Regions from separate parts of the Homo sapiens genome. Here region 1 is linked to region 2. Evidence: promoter capture Hi-C in human tissues and cell types (Jung and others, 2019). All regions are on one chromosome and are shown on one strand. The core of a region is centred on a gene start or on the middle of the fragment in contact, and the rest is flanking DNA. Distances in the headings are between cores, read along the strand shown.

Region 1 (2,700 bases), core at 49-2,548, 51 kb before region 2:
ACAAAGCCTGTTTGGTGGTCTCTTCACACAGATGCACATAACAAAGTGTGGGTGATGCGAACAATGTTTATGTAATCAACTTTTGGTTAAATCCCTTCCTTAAAGATTTGAATCTTGGTCTAGAACATCACTCTGGAATGTCATATTTATTGTATCATGTAAATGTCCAATTTAACATCCTATAACCCCACGGCATATTGGGTACACGTGCGGCACAAGTTACCTTATACTCTGAACAAGAAATGGGTCAGGAAGAATACGAGCCTTGTCCTTGCAGATTTTCTCAATTATTCGTCATCTATAATGCATATGTGTAGGGAAACTGGCAGGATGTAGAAATGAATAAAAAGAGGAAACATCTTTTTTCCTTGCTTTATATGACCAGCAATCAGTGCCACTGATGTAGCAAGTGCCATGTAAACATCAGTTATTTTATTCATGTCAATGATCCTGTGTGCTAGAAATTACCTCATTTTATTTATGGGGTGACAGAGGCTCAGAGAGATTAAATAACATGCTGGAGTCTTACATCTTGCAGGCAGCAGAGCCAGGATTTAAACTCACCCAGAGCCTGTGCTTTTCCCTGTGTGCCACGAAGCCCACACACAGCAGTCCACTCTCCTCCAGGTCCCTCACTGCATCTTCCATTCTTCTGGGCAAGGCCTGAGAGCAGAGGCCCTGAAGCCCAGGGCCCAGGCCCCTCAGGGAAGCTTCTGGTGTAAAGCAAAAATAAAATGCTAAGCCCCCTAACCATCTGAATGAACCCCTCTTCTTGGAATGCCAAGGGCATTCCAAAGTTAATCTGAAAAACGAGTTCAGGCTATGATGGGAAGCAGGGGTTGGACATGCCTCAATATACCTTCCGCCCTTTTGGAATTCAGGCACAGCTGACCAGCATTAACATCAACACAGACTTTAAGTCTGATAAGAAGCATTTACAATCTATTCTCTGTGAAGCCTGCTACCTGGAGGCTTCATCTGCATGACAAAACCTGGCTCTCCACAATCCCTTATTATAACCCAGACACTCCCTTCTATTGATTCCAGGTCTTTAGATAAAAACTCTTTCAACCAATTGCCAATCAGAAATTCTTTGAGTCTACCTGTGACCTGGAAGCCCCTGCTTCAAGTTGTCCCACCTTTCCTGACCCAACGAATGTACACCTTACCTGTATTGATTGATGTCTTAAGTCCCCCTAAAATGTATAAAACCAAGGTGTAGCCTGACTACCTTGGGCACATGTTCTCCTGACCTCCTGAGGTTGTGTCACAAGTCATTGGTCCCTCATATTTGGTCAGAATAAACCTCTTCAAATGTTTTACAGAGCTTGACGCTTTTCGTCCACACTATGCAAAGAGAACAAGACAGGGATGGGAGATTTTGGTTCCACTTGGTGGCCAAGGCTCCTGGTTTCTAACCACATGCAGGACCAAGCTGGCACGGCCTGTCACAGCACCCACATCCCTACTGCCTTCTGGAAGCTGCTCCTTTTCCTTCAGGGCTAAGCAGGGACCCAGACCCCTTCCTTCACTGTCCTGGAGGCTCCAGCACCTGGTCACATTTCTGCTCTCAGCCTTGAAATGTGGAGGGCTCATCTCATCTTCTCAGAAAGTAAAACATGTGGCAGCCTCAGTGAGCCCATACAGTTTTCTTCAGGGCAGCCCACATGGCACCTGGCATGGTCTCCTCTCCCTCAAAGCAGGAAAGAGACCTTCTCATGGGTAAGAGAAGGCCCATGGTGGAAACACAAAGGCAGCCATCTGGCTGAGAAGGAAAAAACACTGATTCTTCCAGATGAGTCTGCAGTGGCGGAAAACAAAGCTGGGGTGGCTTCCCCACTGCAGTGCTTAGTTCTCGGGGGGATCTGCTGCTCATTGATTTCTAACATTGCCTTCCAGTTACATCATGGAAAACAGGAAGAAAGAGGAAAAAATAGGAAAGGAAGAACAAAATGCACTGAAGCAAGAGCAGGAAGAAAGGGTAGAATGAAGCATTTAAACAGAGAGGAAGAGAAAAATAGCAATCACAGAAAGAACCAGGGAGTTTATAAAACAGGCTGCATGAAAATCATTTATCAAAACACTGTCCAGGAATTTTTGTTAAAAATAAACATAAAACAATTAGCTAGTCACAAAAAGACAAGTACTGTGGAACTCCACTCATTGTTAGTCAGTGGCGAGGCAGACATGAGCAGGGCAGGAGAGGGCCCACCCCACCAGGAACCTCTGGAGACCATCAGGTGATACTCAGGCAGTGGTTAAACTGGTTCTCTAAAATAGTAATTGGTTGCAGCTGTGCCAGGGAAAGGCGGGCTCCCAATAGCTGGAAAACACCTGAAACTGATCAGCAGCTTTCTATAAGATCTCAGGAGTGGGGCGAGGTGGCTTAGGCCTGTGCACTAAGAGGTAAAATGTAGTTTAACTGGTGTGTGACCTTCCTCCAGGAACACGAGACAGGTAAGGGCAAAATACTTCAGGTGAGCATGTGCACAACTTCAGTAATACAGCGCGCACGCGGCCCCGCCCAAGCGCTGGCCGGTCACTGCGCATGCGGACAGCCCACCCCAAGGAAAGGTCAAGGAAGGGGAAATGGAAACCCTGAACCATGCCCATGTATAAAACCCAAAGTGGGGGGTTGTACCCTGCACTTGGATCTCTCAAGTCGCCTACTTCACCCTCTCCCAAGTGTACTTTACTTCC
Region 2 (2,700 bases), core at 9-2,508:
TCGGCATCTGATCAGTAAAAGGGGACCATGATGGGAGGCGAGGCAGTAGACAGCACTTTGTGACGGTTCCTAACCAGTCGCTGTTATCACTGAGCACATTGTCCTCGTAATCCAGAATTCATACTGCCATTTGAATATTTTTTGTATTTGCAAAGAAAATTTTAACCACTTAACTCAAGGCTAGAAATAAAAGCAATTAGTGATTGCAAGAGAAATCCACCGGCAGAAGGCAGGGGGAGACGACTTAAGCCTCTGATTATTTTTGGAAGCTTTATATGCTTTCTAGCCTTTGTCATTGAATGGATTAATGTATGTGCCTGGCATAGACTAAGTGCTTTGCTTGTTAAACTGCCCGCGGGTCATAGCGAGCAAACTGGGGGAGCGCCCAGGGACAGTGGATGGAGTGAGTGGAGACTCGTGTCCTTTTAAGAAGAGGCTCCATTTCTTCCTCGCATGTCAATGTGTGCGTGTCATCAGTTGTTCGAGGAAGCTCGCGCATGACGCGACACTTGCCGTCTGGGCTCTCCAGGTTCGGCCTGCTGCTTTCACAGCCCAGATCTTCGGCGTCCCCGAGACGCAGCCAGGCGCCCGGCCCGGCCCGGCCCGGCCCTCTGCACAGCCCCACTTCAGGCCACGCCGTTTCCTTGACCTTCCCCCGGCAGGGTCTGAAGCGTCACCGTCCGTCTAGAGCAGAGTCGCGCAGGCCCCTGCCCTGCCGGTGAGGTCGGCGCCGCGCTCCGGAGAGTCGGTTCCTCCCGATTCAGACCCATATGGCTTCAGATGGAACCATCATTTCTGTTCCGTCATGACCGGCTTGCAAGGTAGCAAAGCGAAACAAACGTCTCGTTTTCAGCCTGTCCCCGCCACCTTGAAATAAAACCGGCAAAAATAAAAAGAGCATTCTGGGAAGTACTTCATCATTTCAACGCTCACGAATTCAAAACATAAACAAAGGCTTCCGAGTGCCCCGGCCAGGGGCGCGGGGCGCACGGCGGGCCCGGGGCAGGTAAGCGCAGGTGCGCGCCCGCCCCCACCCCCGGCTCCCTCCCCATCCGCTCCCCGCTCCCCTTCCCCTTTCCCTTCCCCGCCCGCTCCCAGCCGCCGCCGCCGCCCCGCGCACGGCCTGGAGCGGAGGCTGCGCAGGGCGCGGGGCGGCGCGGGCCGGGCGCGGGCCGGGCGGACGGCCGCGTCTTTCTTCTCCTGGCGGTGATGTCATTGGGCGACGGCGGCCGAGGCCGGGGGGCGGCGGCGGGCGCCCGCAGGTTCCCGAGCCGCTCCTGAGAAGGCGCCTGACAGCGGGCCGGGGCGCACGGAGAAGCGGGCCGGGCCGGACCTGCTGGGCCGCGCCGAGCCAATCGCCGGCGCCGGCCGCTCGATGGGCGAGGCGGCGGCGGCGGCGGCGGGGGCCGCGGGCCGGGCCGCCGCTCCGAGGTGAAGGCGCGCGCCCCTCCCCGCCTGCCTCCCGGGCCGCAGCGATGAATTCCGCCGAGCAAACCGTTACGTGGCTCATCACTCTGGGGGTGCTGGAGTCGCCCAAAAAAACCATCTCGGACCCGGAGGGCTTTCTGCAGGCGTCGCTGAAGGATGGGGTGGTCCTCTGCAGGCTGCTGGAGCGCCTGCTCCCCGGGACCATCGAGAAAGTAAGTCCCGGCCCGCGCCCCCGCCCGCGCCCCCCGGTCCGGCCCGCTGCGGCCCGGGATGCGCGCGGAGCACCTGAGGCCGGCCGCGCTCGGGAAACCCGTGCGCCCTCCTTTGTGCGCGGAGCGGCGGCGCGGCCGGCGCCAGGACCGTGGCGGGAGCTCGGGGGGCGCCATTGTGTGCGGGGCAGGGGGAGGGGGCCGGGGAGCGGGGTCGGGGGGAGGGGCGGCGCGGGCGGCGGGGGTCCCCGGGAAGGAGAGTGCACCGCAGCGAGGAGACGGGGCTTCTGCGCCGCCCGAACGCTAAGTTGCCCCTCCGCGTGGGGGGCCGGCCCCGCTCCCTGGCAGCAGCCGCATCGGAAACCGCGTTCCGACGCGGTGCGGCTCACTCCGCTGGCTTTGTGTGGACAGTTCTTGCCGGTGGCGTTGCGTGAGTTTCGCCTCCCAGGTTAATTGACCGGTTGCTCTGTATTTTTAAAGAGGCACGCATCTGTAGCTGAGGGCTGCGCTGTGAAACGATCTACTACTTTCCCCTCGAGAAAATTCCCCACCTATCCGAGCCGAGAGGACGGCAGACACAGGGTCTAAGTCCTGGCACTCTTCAAGGCTTGTTAAAATTCTAGATTTCGTTCTCAGGTCCCTCCCTCGTTCTGAACAGAACCTTTAGTCCTGCAGGCACTGCTTCTCCCTTCCGGCTGGTGGTTCCCAGGCTGGAGCGTGTGAACCCTGACCCGAATCTCTGGAAGTGATTAAAGTTTGTTTTCATCGCCCACAAGCCGGCCAGCAGGGCCGAGGAGGCAGGAGAGTTTCTAAAAACGATGTCTCCCTGTAGCTCAAAATACTAAAATCTTATTCCCAGGGTGTTTCTTCGGGGGGTGGGGTGGGGGTGGGGGTGGCCAATATATAGCGTTAAGATCAACAGTTATTTAAAAGGTGTTAAATATAGAAATTGAAGTGTACCATAATTAGGAAGAAGGATTTCAGTTTTTAAGTGGGGTGTATTGGCCCCCATACAGGATGACAACAACTTGTAAATAAAATGCCACGTAAGTGACTTGAAAAA

What was found. The method cuts DNA at HindIII sites, captures the fragments that hold promoters and counts their contacts. A contact is called where the count stands out against the background at its distance.
Region 1: a contact is called between a fragment that was not itself captured here and the fragment with the promoter of ARHGEF7 in region 2, in 1 of the 25 tissues and cell types used here (mesendoderm cells).

The regions. Positions count from the first base shown.
Region 1 is chr13:111,063,380-111,066,079 of GRCh38, forward strand. No RefSeq gene overlaps it. Among named protein-coding and RNA genes, the nearest start is that of LINC00368, 31 kb to the right of the region's middle. RefSeq lists an enhancer at 670-1,200. The HindIII fragment of the contact is 5,156 bases long and covers 1-2,700 here.
Region 2 is chr13:111,114,052-111,116,751 of GRCh38, forward strand. ARHGEF7 (Rho guanine nucleotide exchange factor 7) reads left to right here and starts at 1,259. Exons shown (of 22, transcript NM_001354046.2): 1 at 1,259-1,640. The coding sequence starts at 1,476. ARHGEF7-AS2 (ARHGEF7 antisense RNA 2) reads right to left here and starts at 1,627. Exons shown (of 2, transcript NR_046667.1): 1 at 1,496-1,627; 2 at 1-867. RefSeq lists a silencer at 1,132-1,221. The HindIII fragment of the contact is 8,096 bases long and covers 94-2,700 here.